2 separate regions of the Homo sapiens genome follow, and region 1 is linked to region 2. Evidence: promoter capture Hi-C in 16 types of primary human blood cells and fetal thymus (Javierre and others, 2016). All regions are on one chromosome and are shown on one strand. Each heading gives the region's core, a stretch centred on a gene start or on the middle of the fragment in contact. The rest is flanking DNA. Distances are from core to core; before and after follow the strand shown. Region 1 has its middle 130 kb from the start of HNMT. Region 2 holds the start of LCT (lactase).

What was found. The method cuts DNA at HindIII sites, captures the fragments that hold promoters and counts their contacts. A CHiCAGO score of 5 or more calls a contact.
Region 1: a contact is called between a fragment that was not itself captured here and the fragment with the promoter of LCT in region 2, in 1 of 17 cell types (naive CD8 T cells). The highest score is 7.9, in naive CD8 T cells.

The regions. Positions count from the first base shown.
Region 1 is chr2:137,835,728-137,840,404 of GRCh38, forward strand. No RefSeq gene overlaps it. Among named protein-coding and RNA genes, the nearest start is that of HNMT, 130 kb to the right of the region's middle. The HindIII fragment of the contact is 473 bases long and covers 2,427-2,899 here.
Region 2 is chr2:135,835,442-135,840,224 of GRCh38, forward strand. LCT (lactase) reads right to left here and starts at 1,743. Exons shown (of 17, transcript NM_002299.4): 1 at 1,089-1,743. The coding sequence starts at 1,728. MCM6 (minichromosome maintenance complex component 6) reads right to left here. Exons shown (of 17, transcript NM_005915.6): 17 at 4,185-4,783. The HindIII fragment of the contact is 13,164 bases long and covers 1-4,783 here.

The DNA.
Region 1 (4,677 bases), core at 1,413-3,912, 2.0 Mb after region 2:
AAATTAATAATAATAACTCTCCATGTACCATGTTAGAGAGATGTCTGGTCTGAGCCAACCCAAACTAAAAATCACATGTAAGACTCACATTTACAACTCTGGAGCCCTTAAGTGGGCAGACCAGACAAGCAATCTTTTCTTAGAATGTTTAAAACAGCTGTTCCCAACTAGTTGTGCTTCATTATTATATTTCCACCCATAAGTAGGTATATGTCCATACAAAACTCAATTTGGGAGATCAGAGCTTGCCTCTCTTACTGAGACATCTGATGCTTTTGAGGGAGGTGTCCATCTCAATGTTGCTTCTCATCCCAAGACTCACTCTCCCCAGTCCCAGCAATTCCATGTGATACATTGTCAATAGCTGTAACAAGGATAGTTACAATTTACGCTGCATTTAGTATCTGAAGTATGTGTCCTTGTTTTAAAGTAATGACTTTGATTTACTGCTTTCTGAATTCCCATAATAACTCTTTGACATATATTTAATCATCCTGATTTTATATTTTAAGAATTTCAGTTCAAGACTTTAAGCTTCTTTTCTAAAGTCGAATAGCCAGGAGATGGGGGACCTGGTGTCTGCTGTCTGTGATGTAGTCATTTCCGTGCTTGGTGTTGGTGTGATGCTTGGGTTTTACTACCAATTCCTTTTGTGGGTTTTTTTTTTTTTTTTCCTTGTGGGCACCTCCAGCACTGAGATTCTGCTTTTATGTCCTGCCTTTTATGGACTGCCGTTCACACACTACTCCAACTTGCAGAGTGCTCCTACAGCGTTGCCTATCTCAGAGGCAGGGCCACCTCATGTTTGGCTGGTCCCAAGGAAAGGATGCAAATGTAAGGCCCACATTCCACTTGTCTAAATATTTTAATTTATAAGCCAAGTTAACTAATCATTTAATTAAATATGTTTAATCCTCCTACCTTGACAAATATACAAAAAAGACCAGAGAGGCTACATTTCAGTTCAGAATGATCAAATTCCTCAGCCAGAACCTGGAGGTGCCAGAAGAGAAGGGTCCTGGAGCCCAGCAAGCCACCTGTCGGCTCCATTCTCTCCTGCGAAGGGCCTCACACATTCACCACCCCCAGCCTAGGAGTGTGCACAGTATAATGCTAGCCACCCCAGAGAGGGCAGGTCTAGAGAAAAAGCCTGTAGGGGACTTGGGGAAGGGCTGGGAGGCCATGTGGGTGAATAATTCTGGGATCTGGGCACCACCTGTATCACTGGCTGGGAGGGGAAGATGCTAATTCTGGGGACATGTTCCACTGGCCCCATGGGCACATCCTCGATGGCAAGGGGCCTCCAGAAATTAGTCCAGTGTGGGGTCTTAGATGGGTCTAAAGGCAATACTCTTTGGGGTTTCTCCAAACTTTGGCTTCTTTCATTGAAGACCATTGAAGTAATGAGGAACCTCTGGGTCAAACGCCAGACAAGTTGTCTTGCAGCAAGGCAAGCTGGTCTGCTAGAGCCAGTGCCCTACAACCCTACAACCCTTTAGAATTGTTTCCTTCCTAGTATCCAGTGCTTTTCTGTAGATATGAGCCATCCATTCACAGAGGCTGTGGTGTGAACATTCATTCTCTAAAATAGGACACCTTTCCCAGGATCTCATGTATTTTATTTTAAAAGAATCTGCAATTTAAACCAAAGGAATAAATTTGCTAATCATGGAATTTCTAGCACACTGGAAAAATACATGGGGACAGGAATTTTCTTGATATAAACCTGTACTAGTTTCCTAGAGTTACCATTTCAAAAGGCCACAAATTTGGTAGCTTAGCATGATAAGAATTTATAATATTTACTTAGAGTTGTGGCATACAGGATTCTGAAATTAGGGTGTTGGCAGAACCACGCACCTCCCAGAAGCTCTAGAGGGGAATCCTTCCCTGCCTCTTCAGGCTTCTGGCGGCTCGGGTGTTCCTGGGTTTGTGATCACGCCACTGCAATCTCTGCCCCTGTCTTCATATGGCCGAATCCTCTCTGTCACACATCTCCCTGTGCCTTTCTAAGGACACTGGCCATTGGATTTAGAACTCACCTGGATAATACAGGATGAGCTCATCTCAGGATTCTTAACTTCATTACGTCTTCAAATACCTTTTGTTTTCTTTTCTAAATTAGGTCACATTCACGGGTTCTATGTGGACATATTTTGGGAGGGCTTCCATTAACTCACTATGAAATTCTCATGCATTCATAAACTAAAGGCAGATGTAGGAAGAGGGAAGTGGTGAGCACTGGAGTCCCTGCTGTGACCTCCTGCCTGTGCGAAGGCCATGACTGTTAGTCCAACATTGCAGACCTCTCGAAACTTGGCAATGCTCCTCATAGGAGAGGAACTTCACGTGTCAAGGAGAGATGGGGAGGGGAGCAACTGCATTTGAGAACATGAAGAGAAGGTTATTGTGACACTTTGCAGGGAAGCTTTAGCCACATTGAAGCAGAGTAAAGAATAAATCTTCTCTCTTTACTTTTCAAGACCCATAATTTCCTCACAACCATACCTGGAGATTAGTTTAGGACCTAAAATCTAAATTGTATTATTTTTCCCTACCCAAAGGAGACACAGAGCTATTAATAATCGACTGCTTATTAAATCTTAAGTATTTTAATAATATTACTCCGTTTTACTTCATTTTTCTTTCCCTTGTAAGAAAAATAACATTCACACCCATTATATAAATGTGAACACTGAGGCCTTGTGATGTTAAGCAACTTGCCAGGATCTCATAGATAGGAATTAGAGGAGCTGAGACACATAGAGTCCATGCTCTTTCTAGCCCGGGAGTCCATCTAGAACAGTCCTGGCCCTCTAAGTTGACTGCCTTAACATGACTGAATTTCCTCCTTTTCTCCTGAAACAGCGGTAAAACATCCTTTAACAGCAGCCAGAGAAGCTTGGGCTGAGGGAATAGATTTTCCTTTTGCTTACACTGTACTGCCATCTAGTGGCTACATAGTTAATTACAAATAATACCTTTTCTGGTGTCTTCATTCTTTTTTTGGGGGGGGTATTGGTAATTAATTGATATTTAAATATTGCTTCTAAACATTGTGATTCTATAAAAATCTACATCAACTTCATTCCTTTGCTTCCATATATGCACGCACCGCTTCTCCTGTACACCTCTCCTACATATGTGTACCCCACTTGGTCATATTTTGTGTAGCAGATAAGTGAGTTAGGCCTACCTTCAGTGCTCAGAATATGACTTGAAACATCCAGAAATTAAAATTGTATGCAAACACACCACATGCTCCCCATCCTCCCTCCTCATGGAACTGTGCTCCTTCGGCATGATCTAAATAAAGCTTGTCCAACCTGTGGCCCACAGGCCATATGCGGCTTAGGACAGCTCTCAATGTGGCCAAATTCATAAAGTTTCTTAAAACATTGTAAGTATTTTTGCAATTTTTTAAGCTCATTAGCTATCGTTAGTGTTAGTATATTTTATGTGTGGCCCAAGACAATTCTTCCAATGTAACCCAGGGAAGCCAAAAGATTGGATACCCCTGGTAAATTGACAGAAATGTTAGGATAGACTTGCTTTTGATCATGTTTTTAGATCTGCATACACAATTTTTGTCCCACCAAAGATGACGTATGCACTAAGCCATGGCAGAACTGCCTCTGGTACTGATTGCCCAGCGCACGTGCTGGAATGAGATCACCCATTGAGGGATGTGTGCTGAGTGCCTCTGTGTACAAGTTGAGCGGAAGGAGGTCTCACCGCCCCATTATAAAATATACATTCTGAAGCTGCAAGACACCAACCAGTGCTAGTATTAATCATCTAATGTGGCTGTTGTAACAAATTACCACAAATTTAGTGGCTTAAAACAACGCACTTTTATTATCTTACTGTTCTGGAGGTCAGAAATTTAAAATAGGTTTCACGGGCCGAAAACCAAGGTGTCGGCATGCTGGTGTCTTCTGGAGGCTCTAGGGGAGCGTCTGTTCCCTCACCTCTTCCGGCCTCTGGAGGTTGTCTGCATTCTTTGGCTTAGGGCCCCTTCTTCTATCTTCAAAACCAGCAACATGGCTCCAGTCCTACTCACATTGCTATCTTTCTGGTTTGCTCTCTTTTGTCTTTCTCTTCTCCACTGAAAAACCCTTGCTGGTTATATTGAGACCACTTACAGTAATCCAGGATAAAGTCCCATCTGCCTATTTTAAGGGTAGCTGATTAACAACCCTAATTCCATCTGTGACCTTAATTCCCCTTTGCCATGGAACATAAGATATTCACAGGTCCCAGGGATTGAGGCTTGGACATCTTTCGTGGTGTGGGTGGGGCATTATTCTGCATACTCAATACTCAAGAGAAGGGAAATCTGGACTGAAGTGTTTCTTGCTGGGCCATGGTGGCGATGGGAGAGGCAAGTTCCACCCAGAGATCATTCTTTCCCTTCTCGCTGCCTCTCCATCTTCACAGACTGCAGAGAGTCTTGTAAGCATGAGGACACACCCACCCTTAGATTCTGCCCACACTTTTTTGGAAGCCACACTTAACAGTAGATAGGAACATAGATTTAGACAGATTTTAATTTAAATCCCAGATTTATTCCTAGATCTAAGAACTTGAGTATATTACTAAGCTCAGTTTCTTCATTATTAAAATGGGTGAAATACCTTCCTCCTAGTATTGTTGCAAGGCTTAAATAAAAGAGTC
Region 2 (4,783 bases), core at 493-2,992:
AGTCATAAACTATGTTAAAATGAAAAAGTAGAACATAGAAGTATATATATATATATATATATATATATATATATATATATATATATATATCAGGTACTATATATACAAATATGTATGTATATGGTATATAATAAAAACAAGAAAGCATATATAATCCAAAATTGATTCTCAAAATTGGTGTACCTAACATACACTTAGGGAATTGATTATAATCACAAATGTCCTGGTTCAGCCTAGGCCTACAGATCAGAACTTCAAGTCCCCTAGGAGGCAGGAATGTGAACAGTTACAGTTGTGCTCTCCTCATCCTGTGATATATAATTGTTTCATCTTGTATTTGTCTGTCTCCCAAGCTGCAATGTAAGCTCCAACTAAGACATGTAAGTATAGGGGAGCCGAGGGGGAAGGACAGGAAACCACGAAACTTTGCCTCCAAGTCAGGGTAGCAGGACATAGACGGAAAGGAAGACAGAAAGACAATCAGTGCTTGCACAACTCAAGACTGGGCAAGGGGTATTTCAAAAATACATGTGTGTATATATATATATATATATATATATATATATATATATATGTATACATATTTTTTTTTTTTGAGATTGTGTCTTGCTCTGTCGCACAGGCTGTAGTACAGTGGCATGATTTCGGCTCACTGCAACATCTGCCTCCTGGGTTCAAGCAATTCTCCTGCCTAAGCCTCCCGAGTAGCTGGGATCACAGGCGCCTGCTACCATCCCTGGCTAATTTTGGTATTTTTAGTAGAGACGGGGTTTTGCCATATTGGCCAGGCTGGTCTCGAACTCCTGACTTCAAGTGATCCGCCCACCTCGGCCTCCCAAAGTGCTAGGATTACAGGCGTGAGCCTCAAAGATATTTTTCAAAGGAAATGCTGAGTGTTTTGCCATGTTAGCTACCCCTTCCTATCGCCAGTGGGAAATCAATTTACAATATTAATTTCTCCCTATGCACAGACATAAGAGGACTGCTGAAGGTGAGTTGGGAGAAATGTCGAATCTGCTCTAAGGAGGATGGGGAAGGTGTGTGATGAAGGTTGCCGAGGGGTCACCATCAGGTCAATGTGTACTCACCCTGAAAAGCATAGCTTTCGTGGTAAATCTCATAGGCTTTTCTGTGGGCATCACTGAGGGTCTGGAGTTGTGACGCTCTTGATTCCTGGTGGGGAAGCTCCTTGATCACTTCCTCCAAGTCACTGAAGGTGAACCAGATCCCAACTAGGTCCCCGAAGGAGTGGAAGGCGAATGTGGCATAGTCGGCGAAGAGGTCAGCAAAGGCTTCGGTTCTCCGGAGGGTGCTGGCAGGGAGGGTCTGGTGGTGCAGGATGACCATGGGCTGAAGCCGTGCAGTCTTGAGGGCCTTGAGGAGTCGCCGGTAGCACTGCACTGTTTTCTCGTCTGGATTCTGGGTGCTTCCTGCTGGGAGGAGCTGTGCCCATGACAGAAATACCTTATAATGGGTGATCTGACTGGCATGGAGACTGCTGAAGTATTCTGGCAGGAAAGTGGGCAGTGGCTGGTGACAAACATACATGTCTTTGTCCCCTGCTACAAAGTTAGAACTCTGGTCTCCCAGGAGACCACTCAGGTTGTGCAGCAAGTCATTGGTTAGAGGACCAGCGGTGGAAATGAAATTTCTATCAGACTCCCAGTCTGACCCCCAGCATGAAAAACTTAGCAGGGCAATAAAGACTACATGCCAAGACAGCTCCATTTTCTAGGAACTGTTAGGAGGTATGTGGAACCCTTACTTTATAACTGCAACTGAGGTTGTAAAATACTAAGTGATAATTAAGACTTAATATTTAACTGGGTTATCTATGATCACAAAATCAGTACACGGTTCACTAATGCAATATTTAAAAATGTAAAGATCAGGGCCGGGCGTGGTGGCTCACACCTGTAATTCCAGCACTTTGGGAGGCCGAGGTGGGCGGATCACGAGGTCAGGAGATCGAGACCGTCCTAGCTAACATGGTGAAACCCCATCTCTACTAAAAATACAAAAAATTAGCCAGGCATCGTGGCATGCGCCTGTAGTCCCGGCTACTCAGGAGGCTGAGGCAGGAGAATCACTTGAACCCAGGAGGCGGAGGTTGCAGGAGCCAAGATCATGCCACTGCACTCCAGCCTGGGCAACAGAATGAGACTCCATCTTAAAAAAAAAAAAAAAAAAAAAAGGTAAAGACCAACACAAAAACCTCAGACTTCCTATACAAGTTAAGCAGAGGAACCCGGAAAATGTCTGAAGAAAACGATTACCAATTTTTTTTGTTTTTTTTGTTTTTTGGTGACCGGGTCTCACTCTGTTGCCCAGGTGGGAGTGCAGTGGTGCGATCACAGCTTCCTGCAGCCTTGACTTCCTGGGCTCAAGTGATCCTCCCATCTCAGCATCCTGGGTAGGTGGGACCATAGGTGTGCGCCACCACGACTGGCTAATTTTTTGTATTTTTAGTAGAGATGGAGTTTTGCCATGTCACCCAGGCTGGTCTTGAACTCCTGGGCTCAAGCAATCCTCTTGCCTCAGCCTCCTAAAGTGTTGGGATTACAGGTGTGAGCCAGCGCACCCAGCCACACATTATTTTAAAATTTGTTTACATAATACAAAAATAAGTATTTTGCCCCAAATTTTCTCTTTAAAAATATGCTGAACATATTTTGTAAGAGATTCAAACAATATGGAAACATCTATGAAAAACTTGCAAATTCCTTCACCCTCCCCCCTCCTCTTCCTATAATAAGTATCTTCAGCAATATGTATCTTTCCAGTTTTCTTTCTCTGCATATCTTAATGGTTATACAGGAGTCAGAATGCCTGGGTTTAAATCTCACCTGACAAAAATTACTTAACTTTGTGCCTCTATTTTGTCACCTGTAGAATGTGGATAATTCATCATAGGCTGTGGGGATTAAATGGGTCTTTCTTGTAGCATGTATACAACAGTACAGCTCAGGGATCATTATTATTACGTAAATACAAATGGAAACGTGTATAACATTTAAAATATAGAACAATTTAACATATATGGAATTATGCCATATGTATTTTCAGCCTTTTCTTCACTTAATAGCTCTTAGAGTTCTGCCTGTATCAGAACATATAGACCCACCTCTAACAGATGCATAGCTTTCCACAGCAAGAATGTACCATAAATTAACATCTTGCATATTAAACACCGGTTGGTTTTACATTTTTGTGTTGCAAACAATGCTGCAAATGAATATCCTTATATACAGGCTGGGCATGGTCAATCACGCCTGTTTTGCCAGTACTTTTGGAGGCTCAGACTGTAGGACTGCTCAAGCCCAGGAGCTTGAGGCCAGTCTGGGCAACACAGGGAGATCATCTCAAAAAAAAAAATGGTTTTTGATTGATTGAAATGCAAATTGTCTTCCAAGTTAAATCCTACATAGAGTTAGATGTGTGCCTGTATCCGTCTGCCTTGCTAATGCCTATTATAAAACTTTTACATTTTTGATACTTTGACGTAAATATTATGTGCTTTTCTTTTTCTGATTATTTAAGAGGTGAAGCTCTTCTTGTTAATTGGGCATTTTTCTTCTGAGTTTTATCTTATTACTGATATAAAAATTCTTAATGGGAGTTTGGATATCACATATTAAAACGTGATAGAAAAATTTTCCCATCTTTTAATTTGGTTTATAGTGTCTGTTTTTTTTTAATAGACTCCCATGACTTTCCATAGACTGTAGAGGGTGAAGCCTGGGAATCTTTTTTTGTTGTTGTTGTTGCCGCCCAAGCTGGAGGGCAGTGGCATGATCTCAGCTCACTGCAACTTCCACCTCTTGGGTTCAAGCAATTCTCCTGCCTCAACCTCCTGAGTAGCTGGGATTACAGGTGCCCACCACCATGCCTGGCTAATTTTTGTACTTTTAGTAGAGACAGGTTTTCTCCACGTTGGCCAGGCTTGTCTCGAACTCCTGACCTCAGGTGATCTACTCACCTTGGCCTCCCAAAGTGCTGGGATTACAGGCGTGAGCCACCGTGCCTAGCCTTTTTTTTTCTTAAGTGAAAGCAAGGCTATTAGGAAAGTAAAGGAATAAAAAATGGTTACTACGTCAGCAGAGCAGCCTAGTCTTTAAAGATACATTACCTGATACCAGTCTTCTTATAAAAATCCCATGACAAATCTACTTGAGTATTCACTCTTGTTTTTAATGTTTGCCATTTATTTTTAAAATACTTAATTGTACATACTTGTGGAGTACATTTTGACAAGGTTTCATACAAGTTGATTCCAGGGAAAGAGATAATTATTGGGAGAAACATATTTAAATCATTGTTTTAACCTATATTAATCTGTCTTGCTTTCTACTAATAGATTTCTGGCTGCTCAAATTCACATTGCACTGGAAAGCTCAGACATCAAGGCAAGTTGAGTACTCATGGGTATTAGACTGTCCCACGTGGGCCTTAGCCTCAGACAGTTATTTTGCTTTTGTGACCTTTAACATACTTTGTGATTTAATGAATGCCATCTGTTGTTAAAAGCTGCAACACAGGAACTGCTCCACCTCATGAACATACTGATCATAGCTAAGTCTCAGGAACTGTTAGTATCATAAACGGTAATAACTTTTCCTGGAAGACCATAAAATTTGGGGATTGCTTGTAATATAGCAAATGACCTATTTCCCCTAAAAAAGCAATTTGAAAACAATCCTGAGAAATTACCCTTAGGACACAGAAGTAAAATAAATTACTAAAGAGTAATTTTAAAAAAGTATAATAAACTTTTATAAACTTA